Linked DNA regions of Homo sapiens: region 2 is linked to region 1. The links are contacts of gene promoters, found by promoter capture Hi-C in blood cells and fetal thymus (Javierre and others, 2016). All regions are on one chromosome and are shown on one strand. Each heading gives the region's core, a stretch centred on a gene start or on the middle of the fragment in contact. The rest is flanking DNA. Distances are from core to core; before and after follow the strand shown.

The links. The method cuts DNA at HindIII sites, captures the fragments that hold promoters and counts their contacts. A CHiCAGO score of 5 or more calls a contact.
Region 2: a contact is called between a fragment that was not itself captured here and the fragment with the promoter of PLCH1-AS1 in region 1, in 1 of 17 cell types (M1 macrophages). The highest score is 5.7, in M1 macrophages.

What each region holds. Positions count from the first base shown.
Region 1 is chr3:155,445,927-155,451,865 of GRCh38, reverse strand. It overlaps PLCH1-AS1 (PLCH1 antisense RNA 1), which reads right to left and starts at 2,682. Exons shown (of 2, transcript NR_046746.1): 1 at 2,441-2,682. It also overlaps a transcript of PLCH1 not described here. The HindIII fragment of the contact is 6,189 bases long and covers 1-4,992 here.
Region 2 is chr3:154,361,933-154,367,871 of GRCh38, reverse strand. All of the region lies in intron 3 of GPR149 (G protein-coupled receptor 149), which reads left to right. Among named protein-coding and RNA genes, the nearest start is that of DHX36, 40 kb to the right of the region's middle. RefSeq lists an enhancer at 4,153-4,322. The HindIII fragment of the contact is 3,340 bases long and covers 1,991-5,330 here.

The sequences.
Region 1 (5,939 bases), core at 1,433-3,932:
TGGTTCCAGTCTGACAGTGAAGGTCTGAGAACCAGGAAAGCCAATGATGTAAGATTCAGTCTGAATTTAGGCCCAAAAGCAGAAGACTTCTGTCACAGTTTGAAGACAGGAAGAGAGAAAACATTCTTTCTCACTTATATTAGGTTGGTGCAAAAGTATTTTGCCATTACTTTTAATGGCAAAAACCATGATTACTTTGCACCAACAGAATACTTTTAGTCCATTCAGGCCTCCAAAAAATGGAAAGAGGCCCGCACACATTGCAGATGGAAATCTGCTTTATTCAGTTTACTAATTCAAATGTTAACCTCATCAAGAAATACCCACATAGACATTCCCATAAGTAATGTTTAGCTAAATATCTGGGCACTACATGGCCCTGTTAAGTTGACACATAAAATGAACCATCACACCTTCTAAACACATCAAATCAGGAGGCACATAATGACATTTTGTCTAATTACTAGTGATGTTAACTTAGATCACTTGGATAAGGCAGTCTTTCAAATTTTCTTCACTTAACATTATTTTCCTCTTTGTATTTGGTAAATTTCTCGTGGCAAGATAATTGAGACCATGTAAATATCCTGTTTTTCATCACACCCTTACCTATTAATGATTCTTGATTGAGGTAATTATTACTGTAATGTTATCAAATGATGATTTTATATTTCTGTTATTTCTTCTATATTTATTAATTTGAATTCTCTTATTTATTTCTTGAATGATTGGTATCAGTATGGACTCATCAATATATATTTTTTATTTTGGGGGTTATAGTCCATTATTCTCATTATTAATTTTGTTACTCAACTTGTCATAGATTTGGGCATTAGGGGATCTTCTTTAAATCATATTTAAACAGCTTTGCTGTATGAATCCTCATGGTTAGGTATGTAAGGTTTGTATAAATAAACAAATTTTCTCTATTATTATAGCAATCCAGGTTTCTTCGCATAGAAATGCCTTAAAAAGTTTTTTTATCTTAAAAATGTTTAATTAAAAGTACTACACTAGATAATGGAAACTTAGTAACCACCCCAGATAAAAACAAAACAAAATAAAACAACAACAACCACAATGACCCGTCCCACCACTACCAAGTTATTTTACCCTTCCAGATCAATAATTGTTCATGGGCATTGTATTGAAATGCTGTAAAGACATTTTCACTGGCTAGAGACACTATTTCAAATGAAATATAAAGAAACATGAAAACATTGACATTTTAAAGTGACTCCTATGGATTTGATTTCGTGAATAATTAAAATATAGCATTTAGTGCTCTTATACATTTTATAACTCATTCATTTATATCAGTCTTTATATCTGAAAGAGGTTTAATGTGTTGTTTAAATTCATTGTTTTCTTTTACTGCAAGCCACAGGAAGAAATTCTAGCTATTTCATCCCAAAAGGAATGTATTGAAGGGATATAAGGTAACTAATAGAATGGAAGAGAAACCAAAAATCTGGCTCAGAAAAGAAGTATCAAAAAGAACTGCAGGAATCCATAAAGAAGGAACTAACAAGCAGACCCTTTGAAAAGCGTCTATCTCCCTAAAGATAGTCTTTGTGGGATTCTGTTCAAGATCCAAATATTAAAGACAGAGCAAGTAATCTAACTTAACTGCCAGTCCCAAAAAGATTGGTTCCCCTTGGAGAGAATGACGTCTTGGTTTGGGTTCCCCCAGAGCAGACTCTGAAACAAGGTTTCAAGAACAAGTGGTTTATTTTGGATATGATCCTAGAAAACCTCAGTAGGGGAGTGGAGAAGAGAGGCAGGGAAGGAAGAGAAGCCAATAAAGGATGTGTTATCAAAGCAGTTCCCACAATGAGCAATTGGAGCTTTATTCCACAGGGAGACAATCTAGAACACACATCAGAGTTATCTCAACCCAGAAGTGAGGAAGCTAGGATATTTTTCAACATTATCTATTATTTACACAATTTGCTGGGGGCTTCTGGGCATTAACTCCTGGGCACTTTTGGCTTGTCCTGTGTGTGAGATGAGTGTTCTATTGCAACCAGACGAAAGTTCTCAAGCAGAGACACAGGAGTTTGCAGTGACAGCAATCTTCTGTGAGTAGAAGCAAGTGCTGAGAAGACATGGGCAGAGCATGGCCATGTCTGCTGCAGTGGTTTCCTTAAGTAAGATTGGGATGCTGTTTCTAGAAAGAGATTGGCATCTTGGCAAGCAAAAGTAGTCGATATTTATTTTGCCATGAAGGCAAATGTCTCATTTTACAGGAAAGTTGTTTTCATGTCAAATGCTGTGTATAGTATGAATTAGGATGTTTTCAGCTACATGGAGGAGCCTACCAATTATAAATGGCTTAAAAGAATACAGATTGTATCAGGCATGATAAACTACTTTATGCTATGGTAACAAACAACCCCCACCAGTGGCTTAACACAACAGAAGTTAATTTCTTACTCACACAAAGTAACAAAGTTGGCTGAGGGTTCAGGCAGCTCGTCACAGCAGCTGTTTTTCAGGCATTGGCTCTTCCTTCCAGGCTGTTTGATCTTATGACACCTCCGTAAATATACATGCTCCCACGATTACTACTGCAGGGGAAGAGCAGGTAGAGAGTCAAACACGAGATAGCACACGACGCTTCTGGCAACATTTCATTTCATCTACCGAGTCATGGAGCCATGCTTTGGTGGAGAAATGCTGTGTCCCTGTGTGTCCAGGAGTAGAGAAGAACAGGATATCGGTAACTACAGGGAATAACTACTGCAAGGTTTGGAGGGAGATAAGTCCAGGGGTGTTTCAGTGGCTTGAGTGCCATCCCTTACTTGCTAAGGACATCTTTTTGTCACATAATGACTCCAGTAGCTCCAAATACCACTTCTTCTCACATCAATATTCATAGGCAGGAAGAGAGGGTTGGGGTCTCTCTGCCTCTTTTTTCTAATCAGGTGCTGTGGAGCTTCTCTTCTCCCACCCTGACTCTTTATCAAGGAAGAGAATCTTTCCTAAGAGCCTCTCAATAGACTTCCAATTATGCTTCACTAGTCAGAACTGGGTCATATGCCTACCTCTAGCTGCAAGGGGGCATCTGACATTTGCAGCCTCACTCATGAAAGTCAGGTTCTGTCAGCTTAGAAAAAGGGGTAGGAGAATGGCTGCTGTGTTCAGAATCAGCAATCAATACCACGTGTCTGCCACACACAGCAACAATATTCTCACTGTCCATGTATAGGATTATAAAACATGTGCCCCAAATCACTATGCTGTTGAAACACAACTCACTGAATCCCCACCATGTGGGAGTCTGAATCACAATCACCGACGGCAGAGTTGTATTTAATCACAACATACCAATTCCTGAGGAAATAGAGTATTTCTTGAAATCCAATATCAAGCAACTTCCTGGGAACATCTATTTGAAGGATCAGATGAGAAATCGTGGCTCTTATGTAACAATTCATAACAATTTAAGAGAAGTTTCTGTTATACAGAGTTTTCCAGAACTCATAATCAAAACGGTAGACTACAAATAAGTAGAAGGCTGGAGATTGACCAAGAAAATTTTCCCTCCTGAAAGATAAACTACAACTTGGCTTATTTTTCAAAGAATCAACTTCTCAGACTCTAGGCAGATAAATGAACACAAAATAACTTACTACTGTGTATTTTAGAATCATACACATTATCTGAGACTTTAATAACAGTTAAACAGATGGTAGATGGTAGCAGAGATGCCTGTTTCAAATGACAGTGGTCTAACAGCTCTCAGTTAAATTGCTTGTGACAGCAAAAGGAAAAAAAGACTTGCAATGCTATCAAAAGCTAAAACTTAAAAATAATTATAATAAACTGGAAAGAAATTTACTAAGTGGTGCTAGACTGAGGAAAAAAAATTCTATTCCATCTTTTACTCCGGAAACAAAGACAGCCTGAAAACAGTAGGAATATACTTTGTATCCCCTCTGTCTGCCTTAGGGAGCCAGAGTCTGCCTCAACCAAAAAAGGACACCTGCTTATTTAGGAAATGCTTTGAGATTCAATTTCACTTCCACTGAATCACTTCCTAGCTTCCACTAAGCCAGAAATTAAAGTGGGAACTCAGAGCCAGCTGAGCCATGATCCAGGAGGAGGTATCTTCCTACTGCCAGACATCCCATCTGAAAGGCCACCAACCAAATCACAAATCTAGGTGACTAAATTGCTTGATGTAACTGCTAAATACTGATGCATCATCCACAGCTTTCCAGAGCAGATACTGATGCACATTAATTTACAAATTTCAGACTATGGAGATGCTAATAATTGTGTCCATTAGGTTAACCCAGGAAAAACAGGCAAGATGGAAGCTGGGGTTGGGGAACCCAGACATAGAGATGTGGGGATAGAAATGGGGGTTGTTCTTTAGGAATCAGGTAAGCTGGACTGTTAGTTTCTCAGATTTGTACCTCATGTTCCAGACACGTCTATGCCTGCTGCATGTTCAAAGGGATCAAACCCTTTTGTATATTGAGACTGAAATATTCAGAGTGGAGGAATAGGCTGGGAGATCACCTAGGATACATTTCTGAAAGTAGACATTAAGTTCAATAATGGCAGTGTAGAAGGATATTAGTCACCTATACCCAAAACTGATAGTGGATATTAACAAGCTACCTTACTTATTACTGAGTATGACACATTCTCTTGGGTATCTCCCCTTTCCCCCCAGTTTCATCTTCTAAAGTTGACTTGATTCAGGTACTCAAGGCCCAGGTGAGCTCACCCTTCTTCAATAGGTTAGGTGACTAAATGCTTCAGAGTTTTCTGCAAAATAAAAAGGAACAATGAGAGAAGAAAAGCTCAGGTTGCCTCTCAGCATTGATTGTTCACATTGGGTTTTATTTAGGGAAATCTCCAGAATTATCTTCATGTTTATATATGAAAATAAAAGAGTATTTAGACCTTTATAAAAAGATAGTACCTTCCTAAGACTGGATTTTGGATAAAAAAACAGTATTTAGGTTGTATCAAGCTTTGAAAACTGAAAACAAAAAAAGTGATTGTAGTTTCTTAAATAGACTCTGGGCCTGAGAGGCAGATGTGATTCTGAAATTTCAAATATATATGAAACCAATACTCTTTCTAAAAGCCTTAAATCTTGTTTGGTTTGATTTGTCTGATACAAAGGACAGCTTCTATAGTAGGTGAAAATTTTCAACTTTCGCTAATCATTTCTTTAAAAGTTACTAATGTGGTACCCTGTTTGAGCCCTGAGCAAAAATGGGTAAATGCATGAATGGTAATTTCTTCGTCTTGCTTGAATACAAAAGCAAGTTGGTAACTGCCCAGGCAATGCAAAACAGAAAAATGTTGGCAAGTGGACAAGTCACTTTCTATGCAACTTTATTCACTCTAGCAACTTTTTCTGCATATATTGTGAATTCATTAGAGATAACAAATTTTAAAAATATTTCCATAATTGCACACAATATAAAAAAATATAATACAAAAACACTAAGAACATTTTTTAAATTATCCATTTGAATCTTGAGCTTTAAGATGCCAGGCCAGGCCTATAATCCAGCACTTTGGGAGGCTGAGGTGGGTGGATCACGAGGTCAAGAGATCGAGACCATCTGGGCCAACATGGTGAAACCCCATCTCTACTAAAAATACAAAAATTAGCGGGGCATTGTGGCATGCACCTGTAGTCCCAGCTACTCGGGAGGCTGAGGCAGGAGAATTGCTTGAACCTGGAGGCAGAGGTTGCAGTGAGCCAAGATCACGCCACTGCACTCCAGCCTGGTGACAGAGCGAGACTCTGTCTCAAAATAAAAAAAATAAAAGAAAAAGAAAAAAAAAAAAGATGCCAGAGAATGCACATCAAATACAGAAATTGGTAATAAATCATGTTTACAGACTGTATAATTGAAGAGATCAGCGAATAAGTGGGGTGTATGTGGAAGTGGGGAGTACATTTG
Region 2 (5,939 bases), core at 2,411-4,910, 1.1 Mb after region 1:
GGTCTAATCGTACTCACCATGTGAGGATCGAGATGCCTTTCCTGGAGATCCTCCTGGCTGGCTCGCCAAAATGTAACTCCAAAGGTTCTTGCCTTAGCCATGCCAAAGATTTGGTGGGGCGGCCGCCCATGGTGAGAGAGAGACATGGATCAGACCAAGAGAAAAAAAGCTGTAAGTTTTATTGAGCAGAGTGACAGTACAAAGCTTCCACAGCATGGAAGGTGTCCCAAGTGGGTAGCCAGTGTTAGATTTTTCAATTACATTTTAAACTCTTTAAGGAGGGAAATACGTGCAGTGGGAAGATGTTACCAGAGCAAGAAACAAAGACAATTAACATGTCTCAGATCTTGAGGAGAACCGGAATTGTAACTTAAGTTTATCTACTTTATGACCTTGCAGTGGCATGGCAAAGGAGACAGGATCTCACAGGACTTAACAAACTGTGTTTACAAGGAATTGGAATTGGAAGCATAGATAAGGTCTGCTGATCACAGAAAAACTGGCTTTTAACATTCCTTTTAGTTTCGGGGGGGGGAAGGGAGAGAGGGAGAGAGGACACAGGGAAGCTTACAACAAAATTTTCACTGTTTATAGCTTTCTTGGGGAAGAAAACAGAGGCACAAATTCTGATGTTAGGAATATTTTCAGCATATATCTTCAATATTATTCATCCAAGACCAAAATAAGTCCTGATGCAGGAAAGGAGTGAGTTTCACAGCTTTCTGAGCCCCTACTTGACCCAGGAAGCTCAGCTGGAACCTCCTCTCAGAAGCAGCGTGTAGTCTCCACCAGACACCAATCCTGCCAGAGCCTTGATCTTGAACTTTCCAGCCTCCAGAACAGTGAGCAATACATTTCTGTTCTTTATCCAGTCTCAGGTATTTTATTAAAGCAGCACAAATGAACTAAGATGGAAATTTGTTGACAATAAAACCAAACTCTGCAAAATATTTAAAGAGGTTTATTCTGAGCCAATATGAGTGACCATGTCCTGGGGAACAGTTTCAAGAAATCCTGAGAAAGTGTGCCCAAGGTGGTGAAGTTACTGTTTGGTTTTACAGATTTTAGAGAGACAGAAGCCACAGACAAAGATATAAATCAATACATGTAAGGTATACCTTGATTTGGCCCAGAAAGACAGGACATCTCAATGCCAGGGCTTATAGGTCATAGGTAGATTCAAAGATGTTCTGACTGGCAATTGGTTGAAAGGAGTTAAGCTTTACCTAAAGACTTAAAGTCTGTAGAAAGACATTCTTGAGTTAACATAAGGGGAGTTGTGGAGACCAAAGACAGATGAAGCTTTATAGGTAACAGCCATCACAGAGAATAGATGTAAATGTCTCTTTTTGGACCTTAAAAGGTGTTAGACTCTTAGTTAATCTTTCCTAAATCAGGGAAAGTCCTGGCTGCATTAATGGAGATTGTCTACAGATGCAAATTTCCCCCACCAAAGGCAGCTTTGCAGGGCCATTTTAAATTATGTCACAGAAATGTATTTTGGAGTAAAGTATTTTGATTTCCTTCAGGGTCTGCTATCTGTCATGTAATGCTGTACCAGAGTAGGTTCTAATATGATATCTTATTGCCTCAAGGAGATCAGTCTTATGATCTCTATTTTAATGTCAGTGCTGGTCAGTTGTGCCTAAACTCCAACAGGAAGAGAGTATAACAAGGAGTGTCTGACCTCCCTTTTTGTCATGGCTGAGAATTCAGTTTTTCAGGTTTCTCTAGGGGTCTGTTTGGCCCAAAGAGGGTCCAGTCATTTGGTTGAGGGCCTAGGATTTTATTTTTGGCTTACAGATTGGTACCATAAGTAAGGTATTGTTATAACAAATACCTGAAAATATGGAAACAGCTTTGGAAATAGATAATGGGTAGAGGCTTGACCAGTTTTAAAGTGCGTGCTAGAAAAAGCCTAGATTGCTGTGAATGGAGCATTAAGGGCAATTCTGGTGAGGTCTCAGAAGAGAAAAGCAGTATAAAAGCTTCAGTGTTAGATATTATCTAAGTGGTCATGAACAGACTGTGGGTAGAAATATGGATAGAAAAGAGCATTTTGAAGACATCTTAGATGGAAATAAGGCATATCTTATTGGAAACTGGAGGAAAGGTCATCTTTGTTACAAAGTGGCAAAGAACTGCCTGAATTATGTTCATGTCCTAATCCTTTGTGGAAGGCAAAATTTAAGGGCCATGAACTAAGACATTTGGTGGAAGAAATCTCTAGGCAAAGTGTTCAGGGTGGTGCATGGCTTTTCTTAACCGCTTATAGTAAAGTGTGAGAAGAGAAAAAATGCTCGAGATTGAATTTACGGTCAAAAGTAGAGCAGAAGGTAAAGATTTGAAAAAATTTCAGCTTGGTTATATAAAGAACAAAAGTATGGTTAAGGAGGGAAAACTGAGGATGTGGCCAAGCTACTCATTGATAAGGAAATTAGTATGAATAGAGGGAAGCCAGATGCTATTGATCAAAACAATGGAAGAATAACTCTGAAGGCATTTTGGAGATCTTTGAGACTGCCACTCCCATCACAGGCCAAGAATACCAGAGACTTGAAGGCAGAAGTTTCAAAGGAGGGGCCCAGGGCACCTGTGGAACCTTGGGGTTTGCTGCCCAGGGTCACCTCAAGTCTCTCCTCCCCCATACTCTGGTGAACTGCTCCCAGCTGTGGGGTTAAAAGGTATCAACATTCATCATTGAAGTGGTGCTAAGATTGCAAGCATGCAAAGTACACAAGCTGTGGAGGTATTGCTACCTCCACCTAGATTTCAAAGGATGACTCAGAGAGTCTCAGGTGGCCAGGCAAAGAAATGCCACAGGAGCAGGGTGGCTGCAGAGAGTCTCCAGTAGAGCAATGCCTAGCAGAGTCATGGGGTGGGGCCACTGCAAAAAGTCCCCACCAGGGCAATGCCTAGCAGGTCTGTGAAGGTGGGGCCACCACAGAGTCTCTACTTAGTCAATGTCTCATGAAGCTGTGGGAGTAAGGCTGCCCTGAAACTCCAGAACTCTAGAACTGCCAGAGTGCAATCCCAGCTTGCAGGCACATGACTCCAACTCATGAGAACTGCTGCATGAGCAGCATCCAGCAAAGCCATGGGGGTGGGATCCCCCAGGGCCTTTGGAGCCCAACTTCAGTCTCAGTAAGTCCGTAAGACAGGAGATAGAGCTGAAGAAGATTATTCTCAAGACTTGATATTCAACGTTGTTTTCCCTTTTAGGTTTTGGACTTACTTGAAACGTATTACTTCTTTCTTCTTGCCTATTTCTCCCTTTTGAGATGAAAATGTCTGTGTCATGCCTATCTCACCATTGTATTTTGAAAGTAGATAATTTGTTTGATTTCACAGGCTCATAGCTAGAGAGTAATTTGCCTGAGATGATTTATACCTTGAGTCTCACTCACATCTGATTTAGATGATATTTAGATAAGACTTTGGACTTAGACTTTAAAGTTGATTCTGAAACAAGTTAAGACTTTTGGGGTCTACTGGAATGGAATGATGTATTTCGTATGTGAGAAAAACATGAATTTTGAGGATCCAAGAGTGGAATGCTATGGTTTAAATCATGATGTCTTCTCCAAAACTCATGTTGTAACTTAATGCCCAATGCAGTAGTATTAAGAAGTATGACTTTTGAAAGGTGATTAGACCTGTGGGTTCTGCCCTCATGAATGGGATTGTTGCAGCTTTTTTACTCCCATAGTTCAGCAAGCAGGAGGGAGTGGCACCCAGTGGCTTCACTTCTTCACTCCCATACCTTGGTTAGTAGGAGGGAGTGGTGCCCAGCAGCTTCGCTTCTTCTCTCCCATTGTTCCATGAGAGGGAGAGAGAGTTACAGCTCTTTTATTCCTGCTGCCCACAGCTCAGCACAGCTTCCACTCCTGCATTTCAGTGAGTTCCAGGTTCTTGTCCCACAACCAAGAGGAATAAGGTACATGAACACTGGAGAGTGAGTAAGGCAGAGTAGAATTTTATTGAGCCACAGAAAGAAAGCTGTCAGTGGGAGGGGGACCCAAAAGTGGGTTGTCATCTGGGGTTTTTATGGGCTTAAAATAGGGGAATGCACGCTGATTTGTCCATGGCTGGTCTTGGAAAAAGCACCTTTGGATTGAAAAGGCATCATTCAGAAGGAACCAACCAAGAGAGACTGGGCAAGACAGGGATGGAAGTTCTCACTCCTGTCATGGACTCTATCCAGAAGTGGCAGCTTGGTTTTCAGGTTTTAGACTGCCCTTGGCTTGAAGGTTGGATTTCACTGGGGACTTGTCCCTGTCTGCCTAAGGAATTTGTCTGTTTCCTGTCACTATCAGGATTAACATCCTTATAAATGGGCTCAAGGTTGAAGAGAGCACCCTCTTCCCTGTCATTTTTGCTATGAGAGGACACAGTGTTTGTCCCTCTGGAGGCTGCAGCAATGGGACAGCATCTTAGAAGCAGAGAGCACCCCTCACCAAACACTAATGCTGGAACCTTGATCTTGAACTTCCTAGCCTCCAGAACCAGGAGGCCAATTATTCAAGACTGAATAATTTGTAAATTATTCAGTTTGTAGTATTTTGTTATAGCAGCAAAAGTGTACTGAGACAACCCTCTGATCTACACATCACAGCCCGGAATAAATTTGCAAAAATATAATTTTTCTCCTGTCAATTTTATGCTTAGAACACTTTGGTAGTTCCTTTCGCCTTAAGGACAAGGTTAAAACTCCTTAATGTGGCTTCAGTGATTGGTTCCTGTGGTTTCATCTCCCCTCAACCTCCCCTTGAACTATTTGCTTCAGTTTCTAACCTATTAATTTTATTTCCTTGAATATGCCATGCTCTTTCTTTCTACAAGACCTTTGCACCCTCTACCCAGATTCTTCTTAGAGGAGTCTTCAAAGATTATCTGCTAATGTGCATTTTCAAGTGATCTCATGTGTAATCATTTTCCAATGGAATACCTCTAAATAGCCCTGATATTTCTGCACTGAATCCTTAATATTGATCATTGACACATGGATGGATCCAGGTTATATAGGACTTGAATAGTGTTTGTTTGGGAAAAACAACTGTAAGAAAAAGTATGCAAATCATGAATACAAAATTAGATACAAAAATGAATATTTATTTATAATAAAAAAATATAATAATAAGTGTATTGGTGCCTTGGAGATTCAGACACACATTGTCTGAGATCTCTTTAGGCCATTTCCCAGATACACTTACAAAGAATGCATTCTGATTGCAACCTGGCTTCCACTCTTCACTCAGGGCACTGCCACTTTCAACAATAATCAGCACTCAGAGTGGCCCATGCATGTGATTAGCTGTGGAACTTAAGCTTCATTAGCTTCATGATAAATGTTTCTTCCCCCTGAAGTTTTGATATTTTTAATAGTTTTTAAGTGTTTCAGCTAACAAAAATGCTTATTGGCTTCTTTAGTTGTAATTCTGACTAAAACTTGGGAAACAGGAGAATATGGAAATCTAGCAAGATATTTCTCCATGTCTTTTTTGGGGTGACAGTAAATTAACCAAGAAAGTGTTTGCTCCATGTGACATCACAGCTCTGTCATTTTTTTTTTTTTTTTTTTTTGAGACGGAGTCTTGCTCTGTCGCCCAGGCTGGAGTGCAGTGGCATGATCTCGGCTCACTGCAGGCTCCGCCTCCCGGGTTCACACCATTCTCCTGCCTCAGCCTCTGGAGTAGCTGGGACTACAGATGCCCGCCACCACGCCCGGCTAATTTTTTGTATTTTTAGTAGAGACGGGGTTTCACCATGTTAGCCAGGATGGTCTCGATCTCCTGACCTCATGATCCACCTGTCTTTTTTAGGATATTCTAAGTCAGTAGTTCTCAGATCTGGCTATATATGAAAATAATCTGGAGAACTCTTCACAAATATAAATTTTGGCTTCCAATTCTAAACTACTAAATTAAAATTTCTCAAAG